3 separate regions of the Homo sapiens genome follow, and all the other regions are linked to region 1. Evidence: promoter capture Hi-C in human tissues and cell types (Jung and others, 2019). All regions are on one chromosome and are shown on one strand. Each heading gives the region's core, a stretch centred on a gene start or on the middle of the fragment in contact. The rest is flanking DNA. Distances are from core to core; before and after follow the strand shown. Region 1 holds the start of SPINK8 (serine peptidase inhibitor Kazal type 8 (putative)). Region 2 overlaps PLXNB1 (plexin B1). Region 3 overlaps ATRIP (ATR interacting protein).

Region 1 (3,396 bases), core at 239-2,738:
CTAGGCTATGAACCCAGGGAGTCTTGCCCCTGGTGTCCCTCCCAATTTAGGTATATAGCTGTCAACATGGGCTGTTATGTGGGACCCATTCCCCACCACCCTTGCCAGGGCCCCAAGTTTGTAAATAGCTAGGAAGATCGCTCTCCCATTGTGTAAGATGCTCTCCTCCCCTAATTTCTACCCAGTTTACTACCCCCTGCAATACAATCTCCAAGCCTTGGCTCCTTGGCCAGGCCCTTAGAACTGATAACCCAGTATTTTAACAACTGGAACTGAGTCTACAACAACATAATAGATCAGGATGAAAACGAATTTGAGTAAATTAAAGGGAGGCACATGTTCCTATAGTGGCAAACTGGGGCAACAAGTGAACGTCCTTCCACTGCGTTTCCAAAATCCATCTAAAAAAAGACAGACAGAGAGAGGAAGAGGCAGAAAGTCAAAGAGAGAAAGAAAGAAAAAAGGGAAAGAGAGAGGTAGTAAAGAAAAAACAGTGTACCCTATTCCTTTAAAAGCCAAGGTAAATTTAGAACCTATAATTGATAATTAAAGGTCTTCTCCACGACCCTATAATACTCCAATACTACCTTGTTGTCAGTGTAAACAAGGGCGTAGCCCGAAAACACTGAGACCACTGACAACCCATAGCCTTCCTATCAAAAATCCTGAACCCAGTAACCCGTGGATGGCCCAAATGCATTCAATCTGTAGTGGCAACTGCTTTGCTAACAGAATAAAGTAGAAAAATAACCTTTAGAGGAAACCTCATTGTGAGCACACCTCACCAGTTCAGAACAATCCTAAGACCAAAAAAAAAAAAAAAAAAAGGTAGCTTACTAGCTCAAAATTCTTAAAGTATGGGGCTATTCTGTTAGAAAAAGGTGATTTAACACCAACCACTGATAATTCCCTTAACCCAGCAGATTTCCTAACAGGGGATTTAAATCTTAATTGCCATGCAAAGGTCCAACCAGACCTAGGAGGAACTTCCTTTAGGATAGGACGATAGATGGTTCCTCCCAGGCGATTGAGGAAAAAACCACAATGGGTATTCAGTAATTGATAAGGAAACTCTTGTGGAAGCAGAGTTAGGAGAATTGCCTCATAATTGGTCTGCACAAACTGCGAGCTGTTTGCACTCAGCCAAGCCTTAAAGTACTTACAAAAAGAGCAAGCCCATCTTTTTCTCCTCGCTCTCCTTCTCGTAGGAAAAAGGCACATAGGATAAACAGGAGCCATCTCTCATATTTCGTACCCAAAAGGACTTAATCCAGGGCAACAAAATCTTAAGTTCGATAATTAAGGCATATTCCTACAAAGGAAAAGGACAAAGGCCCTAGTGGGCAAAAACTCTATCTCAATCCTGACTCAAAAGGTTACCTACACCCTCTCTGAAACGAATTTGCATAAGAACTGTTGTTTATGAAAATGCATCTTGATGGGGCAACTGGGTTGTTATGAAATACTCAGAAACCCAGCCCAGCTCTAGAACTCACTCCTGAGTGCAAAGGCAATGTCAGGCACGCTGGTAAAGGACCACTAGAATCCAGCAGCCCAGACCCCTTTCTTTGTGGTCAAGAAGGGCAGGAAAACAGGTGCAGGACTGCTACATCGGTGAGTGTAACTAATCTGATAAGCAGAGGTCCGTGGGTGGTTACGCACCCTGAAAAGGAATAAGCATTAGGACCACAGAGGACGCTCTAGGACTAATGCTCATCAGAAAATGACTAGGGGTGCTGGCATCCCTATGTTCTTTTTAAACGTTCCCCCCTCCCAGGCAAAAACGCCCCTAAGATGTATTCTAGAGAATTAGGACCAATTTGACCCTCAGATGCTAAGAAAGAAACGACTTATATTCTTCTGCAGTACCCCTGGCCACAATATCCTCTTCAAGAGGGAGAAACATGCCCTCCAAGGGAAGTATAAATTATAACACCATCTTACAGCTAGACTTCTTTTGTAGAAAATAGGGCAAATGGAGCGAAGTGCCATATGTGCAAACTTTCTTTTCATTAAGAGACAACTCACAATTATGTTAAAAGTGTGATTTATGCCCTACAGGAAGCCCTCAGAATCTACCCCCCTGCCCCGGCGTTCCCCCGGCTCCTTCCCCAACTAATAATGACCCCCCTTCAACACAAACGGTGCCAAAGGAGATAGAGAAAGGGGTAAACAATGAACCAAAGAGTGCCAATATTCCCAGATTATGCCCCCTTGAAGTGGTGGGAGGAGGAGAATTCAGCCCAGAGTGTGTGTACCTTTTTCCCTCTCAGACTTGAAGCAAATTAAAATAGACCTAGGTAAATTCTCAAATAACCCTGATGGCTATATTGATGTTTTACAAGGGTTAGGACAATCCTTTGATCTGACATGGAGAGACATAATGTTACTGCTAGATCAGATACTAACCCCAAATGAGAGAAGTGCCGCTATAACTGCAGCCCAAGAGTTTGGCAATCTCTGGTATCTCAGTCAGGTCAATGATAGGATGACAACAGAGGAAAGAGAACGATTCCCCACAGGCCAGCAGGCAGTTCCCAGTGTAGACCCTCAATGGGACGCAGAATCAGAATGTGGAGATTGGTGCCGCAGACATTTGCTAACTTGCATGCTAGAAGGACTAAGAAAAACTAGGAAGAAGCCTATGAATTATTCAATGATGCCCACTATAACACAGGGAAAGGAAGAAAATCCTACTGCCTTTCTGGAGAGACTAAGGGAGGCATTGAGGAAGCATACCTCTCTGTCATCTGGATCTATTGAAGGCCAACTAATCTTAAAGGGTAAGTTTATCACTCAGCTGCAGACATTAGAAAAAAACTTCAAAATCCGCCTTAGGCCTGGAACAAAACTTAAACTAAGAACTTGGCCTCAGTTTTTATAATAGAGATCAGAAGGAGCAGGCAGAACTGGACAAACGGGATAAAAAGAAGGCCACCGCTTTAGTCATGGCCTTCAGGCAAGTGGACTTTGGAGGCTCTGGAAAAGTGAAAGGCTGGGCAAATCGAATGCCTAATAGGGATTTGATTCCAGTGCGGTCTACAAGGACACTTTAAAAAAGATTGTCCGAATAGAAATAAGCCACCCCCTCATCCATGCCCCTTATTTCAAGGGTATCACTGGAAGGCCCACTGCCCCAGGGGATGAAGGTCCTCTGAGTCAGAAGCCACTAACCAGATGATCCAGCAGCAGGACTGAGGGTGCCTGGGGCAAGCGCCAGCCCCTGGCATCACCCTCCCCAGGTATGCTTGACCACTGAGGGCCAGGAGGTTAACTGTCTGCTGGACACTAGCGCGGCCTTCTCAGTCTTACTCTCCTGTCCCAGACAACTGTCCTCCAGATCTGTCACTATCCGAGGGGTCCTAGGACAGGCAGTCACTAGATACTTCTCCCAGA
Region 2 (3,519 bases), core at 957-3,456, 80 kb before region 1:
AGCTGTGGTGGGAGTGCACCTCCAGGGACACCTGGTGGAGACTGCAGTCAGCGCTTGAGGGAAGCCAGTTGGGGCCTGAGTGGTCCAAGTTTTCCCTGCCTGCGCCCCTGCATTCATTCCCACCTCCCCTCCCAGGCTGCCGGAGCAGCAGTCAGAACAACTGCGGTGTGAGACCAGCCCACGCCCCACGCCTGCCACGCTCCCTGTGGCTGTGTGGTTTGGGGCCACGGAGCGGAGGCTTCAACGCGGACAGTTCAAGTATACCTTGGACCCCAACATCACCTCTGCTGGCCCCACCAAGAGCTTCCTCAGGTGTTGGGCCAGGGGTGTGGCTGCATGGCAGGTGGCAGGGAGGTCTTTGCAGCTCCACTATGTGGGGGTTTGTAGGGCTTTATGTTGAGGCACTGAGAATCCCATGCTGCTAGTAGGGGCAAGGGGTCGTGTGGTTTGGGGCTGGGGCTGAGCTGACCTAGCCGGGACTGGGCTGTGCTTTAGGTCCAGGTAACATAAGCCATCTTACGTTACGTAAGCTCACGGTCTGTTTCAGTGGAGGACGTGAGATATGCGTCCGTGGCCAGAATCTGGACGTGGTACAGACGCCAAGAATCCGGGTGACCGTGGTCTCGAGAATGCTGCAGCCCAGCCAGGGGCTTGGACGGAGGCGTCGCGTGGTCCCGGAGACGGCATGTTCCCTTGGACCCTCCTGCAGTAGCCAGCAAGTAGGACACCCTTGGGTACCCCCACACTCTCCCCTTGCCCCATACCACACCCTGGGGACAGCCAGAGCAGGTGCCAGAGGAGGCTCTTCCCATCTTTGCTTGGCCCCTCGTCAACCTGCCTGTCTTCCTTCCAGTTTGAGGAGCCGTGCCATGTCAACTCCTCCCAGCTCATCACGTGCCGCACACCTGCCCTCCCAGGCCTGCCTGAGGACCCCTGGGTCCGGGTGGAATTTATCCTTGACAACCTGGTCTTTGACTTTGCAACACTGAACCCCACACCTTTCTCCTATGAGGCCGACCCCACCCTGCAGCCACTCAACCCTGAGGACCCCACCATGCCATTCCGGCACAAGCCTGGGAGTGTGTTCTCCGTGGAGGTACAGCTCCTACTTGGACCTGGCAGGGCCCCGAGACCCTTCCCTTGGCTGGACAGCACTGCTGTGTGTGGCGGAGAGGCCGAGACAGTAGAGCAAGGGCCGGTGGATGGACATGGCTCCTCATCCTTGCTGTGGTGGGGGCAGAGGGGGCTGGTGGGGGGTGCCTAGCCTAGCATCTGGCACGAGCTGGACTGCTTGGCTGGTGGCCCGGGTCCTGATGCACTCCATGGCAGGCTCTGGAATGACTGCATTTGTATGTTCGGCCTGTGCAGTAGCTGGGTGGTGTGGTCCACATAGGCCATCGGGCTGACCCCCGTTGGCAGCCTGGCTCACATGGACATGCGCTAGGCATGTGTCTTGGACATACACAGTGGGCAGCAGATGGGCATGCGGGCAGACCACAGGTTGATACAGCATCATCACCCCCCTGGTGAGTCATCAGACACAGATTGGGGGCTCCAGCTTTGTTAGGTAGCTGGGCAGGATTTGGGAGGCAGCTTTATGTTCTCCAGATTTTTCGTTCTGGAGAAGAAAGATAGGAAAGGGCAACAAAGGGTGATGAGGAGCAGCTTGGAGGACACCGTGTGACTGGCCTGCACTCGGGAAGGGTGCTGAGAGGCTGTCAGCTTTGCTGCTGCGGCTGGGTCTCAGGGTCCTTCCCACATTTGGGGAGGACAGGATCTGAGGGAAGGGTCCTGAGTGACTGATCGGTGACCCTCTGTTCCAGGGGGAGAACCTGGACCTTGCAATGTCCAAGGAGGAGGTGGTGGCTATGATAGGGGATGGCCCCTGTGTGGTGAAGACGCTGACGCGGCACCACCTGTACTGCGAGCCCCCCGTGGAGCAGCCCCTGCCACGGCACCATGCCCTCCGAGAGGCACCTGACTCTTTGCCTGAGTTCACGGTCAGTGGGCAGGTCCCTGGCCGGGCTGGGCATTGACCTGGGCCAAACCCTTGCTCACAGGTGGCTCCTGACACAGGTGCAGATGGGGAACTTGCGCTTCTCCCTGGGTCACGTGCAGTATGACGGCGAGAGCCCTGGGGCTTTTCCTGTGGCAGCCCAGGTGGGCTTGGGGGTGGGCACCTCTCTTCTGGCTCTGGGTGTCATCATCATTGTCCTCATGTACAGGTGGGTGCAGCCAGATGTGGCTGGGCTGGGGCAGGTCGTGGGATCTGGCTGGACTGGGAAGGGACAGACCGGGCCAGGAGTCAGGAAACATTCTCTGTAAATGGCCAGAGAGTAAATATTTTCGCTTTGCAGGCCAAGTGGTCTCTGTTCAACAACTCAGCTTTGCCACTGTGGCACAAAGGCAGCCAGGGACGACATGGAAACACATGAAAGTGGCTGTGTTCTAACAAATCTTTATAAAAATAGGTTGTGGGATGGATTTGGCCTGGTTGTGGTTGGCTGATCTCTAGGCTAAACTGTGCTGGGCTAGACGGGGCATGGGTGTGTGTGACTTGCTTGGGACGGGACAGGCTGAATCGTACTGGGCTAGGCTTGAGCTTGGCTGGCATGGCTGCATTGGACTGTGCTGGATGAGGCCGGGGTGTGCCTGGGGATTGTCAGGCAGGCCTGGGCGAGTAGGACTCATCTGGCCATCCTCTCCTGACCCTGGGGCTGAGCAGGAGGAAGAGCAAGCAGGCCCTGAGGGACTATAAGAAGGTTCAGATCCAGCTGGAGAATCTGGAGAGCAGTGTGCGGGACCGCTGCAAGAAGGAATTCACAGGTGTGGCTGAGAGAATGGGCCCCGCCCTCCAGAACTCTGCCCAAACCCACTCCCATCACACGGGATTGGTGCTTAACAGGTGCTTAACCTGGCCTCTTCTGCTTAACAGACCTCATGACTGAGATGACCGATCTCACCAGTGACCTCCTGGGCAGCGGCATCCCCTTCCTCGACTACAAGGTGTATGCGGAGAGGATCTTCTTCCCTGGGCACCGCGAGTCGCCCTTGCACCGGGACCTGGGTGTGCCTGAGAGCAGACGGCCCACTGTGGAGCAAGGGCTGGGGCAGCTCTCTAACCTGCTCAACAGCAAGCTCTTCCTCACCAAGGTACCCCCAGCTGCATCTTCCTGGCCTGCCCCTGGCCCTGCCCCTTCTCCAGGGCATGGTTTCTGAGCCCGCCCCTCTGTCCCCCTAAACCCCTTTTCCCATCCCTTCTCTTTGGCTGCAGTTCATCCACACGCTGGAGAGCCAGCGCACCTTTTCAGCTCGGGACCGTGCCTACGTGGCATCTCTGCTCACCGTGGCACTGCATGGGAAGCTTGAGTATTTCACTGACATCCTCCGCACTCTGCTCAGTGACCTGGTTGCCCAGTATGTGGCCAAGAACCCCAAGCTGATGCTGCGCAGGTCTGTGTGGCTGTTGGGGCTGGGTGGGCCCTGGACAGCTGGAGCTGGGGTGGGGCCTCGGGCTGG
Region 3 (2,700 bases), core at 39-2,538, 130 kb before region 1:
TCTACCCCAGAGCTCACGCAGGAGGAATGTGTCGGTGAGTCCCCAGGTGCTCCGCTTCTCTTAGCAGCTGCCAAGTCCTGCAGGGCCTGGCAGTGTAAGCCGATGAAGAACTGTACAAGGGGGAGGAAATGCACGGCTCCAGGAAGCTGGCAGAGTGGGAAGGCCCTTCTGCCTCCCTCTGCTGGGTCTCCATCACGTGAGCACTCATTCCGGGCAACCAGATTCAGTCCAGTGAATGCCAGGTTCTGTGCTTCTCTCAGGGCTGAGAGGGAAAATGACCCATCATAAGAACCTGTGGTCCTGAGGCCTGACATTCCAGCCAAGGTACTGGCAACAAACACAAAGAAAAATAGATTAAGTGTGGGATGGAGATAAGGTCAAGAGCCCCAAACAGCCTGCCTGCCAAATTCTCCAGGCTGCCTGCCCTTCCCACAGACTTCTCAGGCTGGCCAGGGCCAGAAAGGAATTTGCTTCCAGGAAGCTCCTTCCCAAACAAGCTTTCCAGGAGTCTTATGCTTACCTGCCAAACCCTGGTGGCTGCAGGGGGGTGCCAGCAGGAGACTCAGAACTACTACTCAGGAGGTGGCAAAGGCTTAGGGATGACCCTGGGATCAAAGGCTGCTTCAGGAGCAGGTTTATCAAAATGGAACCTGCAGAAGACAAGATGACTCTAGAAGGTTCTGACATGGGAGATCTTTTCGGTGGCTTTCAGAAGGAAACAGTAAGGATTCTTTGGATGCCAACTGTCCTCTAGGCTGCCACTAAGCCCCAGGAAGATGCCTGTGGGTGCGGAAGGCTCTGGGACATACCTGCCCTTGGCCCTTTCCACTTTATAAAGTCTTCTGCTTAAGCCACATACTTTGACTTCCCTGGACTCTCTGAAGGACTGCCCGGGGCACCGGTTCTCAGAGGCCTGGGCAATTCTTCTGCATATTACTCAGAGCCATGCAGGCCCCTGCAGGAGAAGCAGGGATTCTGGTACCTTGAGTGTTTGATCTCTGTCTCCAGCTGTCAACAAAGCTTTTCTGGGCCTCTTCTTGTTTTATGGAGTCACCTCTCAGACTGTGGGGCTTACTATCTGAAATGTGATAAAATGTAAATCAAAACTTGAGCCCAGAAGCATGGGCATATTAGAAACTTTTACATGCAATGAGTTTAAAACACACGCTGTTCTACTTCTTCGAACTTGGAACAAACAAGAGCCAAAGCGGCTCAAGAGCCCTGCATCTTTTACCTTCCTTATGTAAAACAGGAACTCATACAAGGAAAGGAAAAGAAAATCAAGCTGTTTGCCTCACTCAAAATGAGGCAATTAGATAAAACAGTGACCACTAACATTGACATGGTGCTTGTTACGTGCTAGACAGTGTTTTAAGAGCTCTATACGCATCAGCCCATTTGTTCCTCAGTGACCCTACAAGGATTTATCATTAGGTCTGTTTTACATATAGGGAAACTGAGGCACAGAGACTAAAGGACTTGCCCAAATCATATAAGCCAGTTAACAGCATTACTGGGACTCACATCCAGGCTACTGGGCTCTACTGCCTGCTTGTAACACTACTGTACACTGCCCCTTTAGCTGCTAGATGCCAAAAATGTAAGTGGGCTACAGTTTCTCAGAAGTGTTATGATGGCCAAGGATTTGAAAGGTTGATGGTAAGAAGAGGGTCAATGTATCCGATTTATAAGATACACTGACATAGCAGTCTGAAAACCTACTGATGTTAGATTGTCTCTCTCTAAAAAACAGCAGATCCCCTCAATCTGGACTGAGTTATAAAAACTCAAAAGCTGGACTACAAAAGGAAAACAGAGGCTGGGCACGGTGGCTCATGCCTGTAATCCCAGCATTTTGGGAGGCTGAAGTGGGTGGATCACGAGGTCATGAGATTGAGACCATCCAGGCCAACATGGTGAAACCTGTCTCTACTAAAAATACAAAAATTAGCTGGGTGTGGTGGCGCATGCCTGTAGTCCCAGCTACTCGGGAGGCTGAGGCAGGAGAATCGCTTGAACATGGGAGGCAGAGGTTACAGTGAGCCGAGATCACGCCACTGCACTCCAGCCTGGTGACAGAGTGAGACTCCGCCTCAAAGAAAAAAAAAAAAAACAAGAAAAGAAAAACAGATTCCTGCATACTAGCTAGGTTTTTGGCATGGTCAATTGATGCTGTGATGGTTTAAAAATATGCCCACAAGCATGATGGCAGGTGCCTGTAATCCCAGCTATTCGGGAGTCTGAGGCAGGAGAATCACTTGAACCCGGGAGGCGGAAGTTGCAGTGAGCTGAGATCGTGCCATTGCACTCCAGCCTGGGTGACAGGGTGAGACTCCGCCTCAAAAAAAAAAAAAAAAAGGCCCACAAATGCTTTGACACAACTCCCCTTCAAAAGGTATAAGCTTGGGAGGAGGGGGGAGGGATAGCATTAGGAGATATACCTAATGCTAAATGACGAGTTAATGGGTGCAACACACCAACATGGCACATGTATACATACGTAACACACCTGCACGTTGTGCACATGTACCCTAAAATTTAAAGTATAATAATAAAATAAAAATAAAAAATAAAAATTAAAAAAAAGGTATAAGCTTGGTTTCTCCCCTTGAATGACGCCCAGACTCAGTGATTTGCTTCTAACAAATACAATGTGGCAGAGGGGATGCTGTGTGACTTCTGAGGCTAGGCCATAAATGG

Evidence for each region. Contacts are between HindIII fragments. The study calls those that stand out against the background at their distance.
Region 2: a contact is called between a fragment that was not itself captured here and the fragment with the promoter of SPINK8 in region 1, in 2 of the 25 tissues and cell types used here (IMR-90 fibroblasts and aorta).
Region 3: a fragment that was not itself captured here is called in contact with the fragment with the promoter of SPINK8 in region 1 in 3 of the 25 tissues and cell types used here (IMR-90 fibroblasts, liver and thymus).

The regions. Positions count from the first base shown.
Region 1 is chr3:48,331,753-48,335,148 of GRCh38, reverse strand. SPINK8 (serine peptidase inhibitor Kazal type 8 (putative)) reads left to right here and starts at 1,488. Exons shown (of 8, transcript NM_001080525.3): 1 at 1,488-1,614; 2 at 2,678-2,783. RefSeq lists a silencer at 943-1,143. The HindIII fragment of the contact is 10,965 bases long and covers 1-3,396 here.
Region 2 is chr3:48,412,376-48,415,894 of GRCh38, reverse strand. PLXNB1 (plexin B1) reads left to right here. Exons shown (of 38, transcript NM_001130082.3): 19 at 136-312; 20 at 548-719; 21 at 854-1,096; 22 at 1,824-2,000; 23 at 2,077-2,225; 24 at 2,726-2,826; 25 at 2,936-3,153; 26 at 3,275-3,453. Among named protein-coding and RNA genes, the nearest start is that of PLXNB1, 16 kb to the left of the region's middle. The HindIII fragment of the contact is 6,083 bases long and covers 1-3,519 here.
Region 3 is chr3:48,457,737-48,460,436 of GRCh38, reverse strand. It overlaps ATRIP (ATR interacting protein), which reads right to left. Exons shown (of 13, transcript NM_130384.3): 6 at 983-1,078; 7 at 521-650; 8 at 1-327. ATRIP-TREX1 (ATRIP-TREX1 readthrough) reads right to left here. Exons shown (of 15, transcript NR_153405.1): 6 at 983-1,078; 7 at 521-650; 8 at 1-327. Among named protein-coding and RNA genes, the nearest start is that of TREX1, 7.1 kb to the left of the region's middle. The HindIII fragment of the contact is 6,156 bases long and covers 1-2,700 here.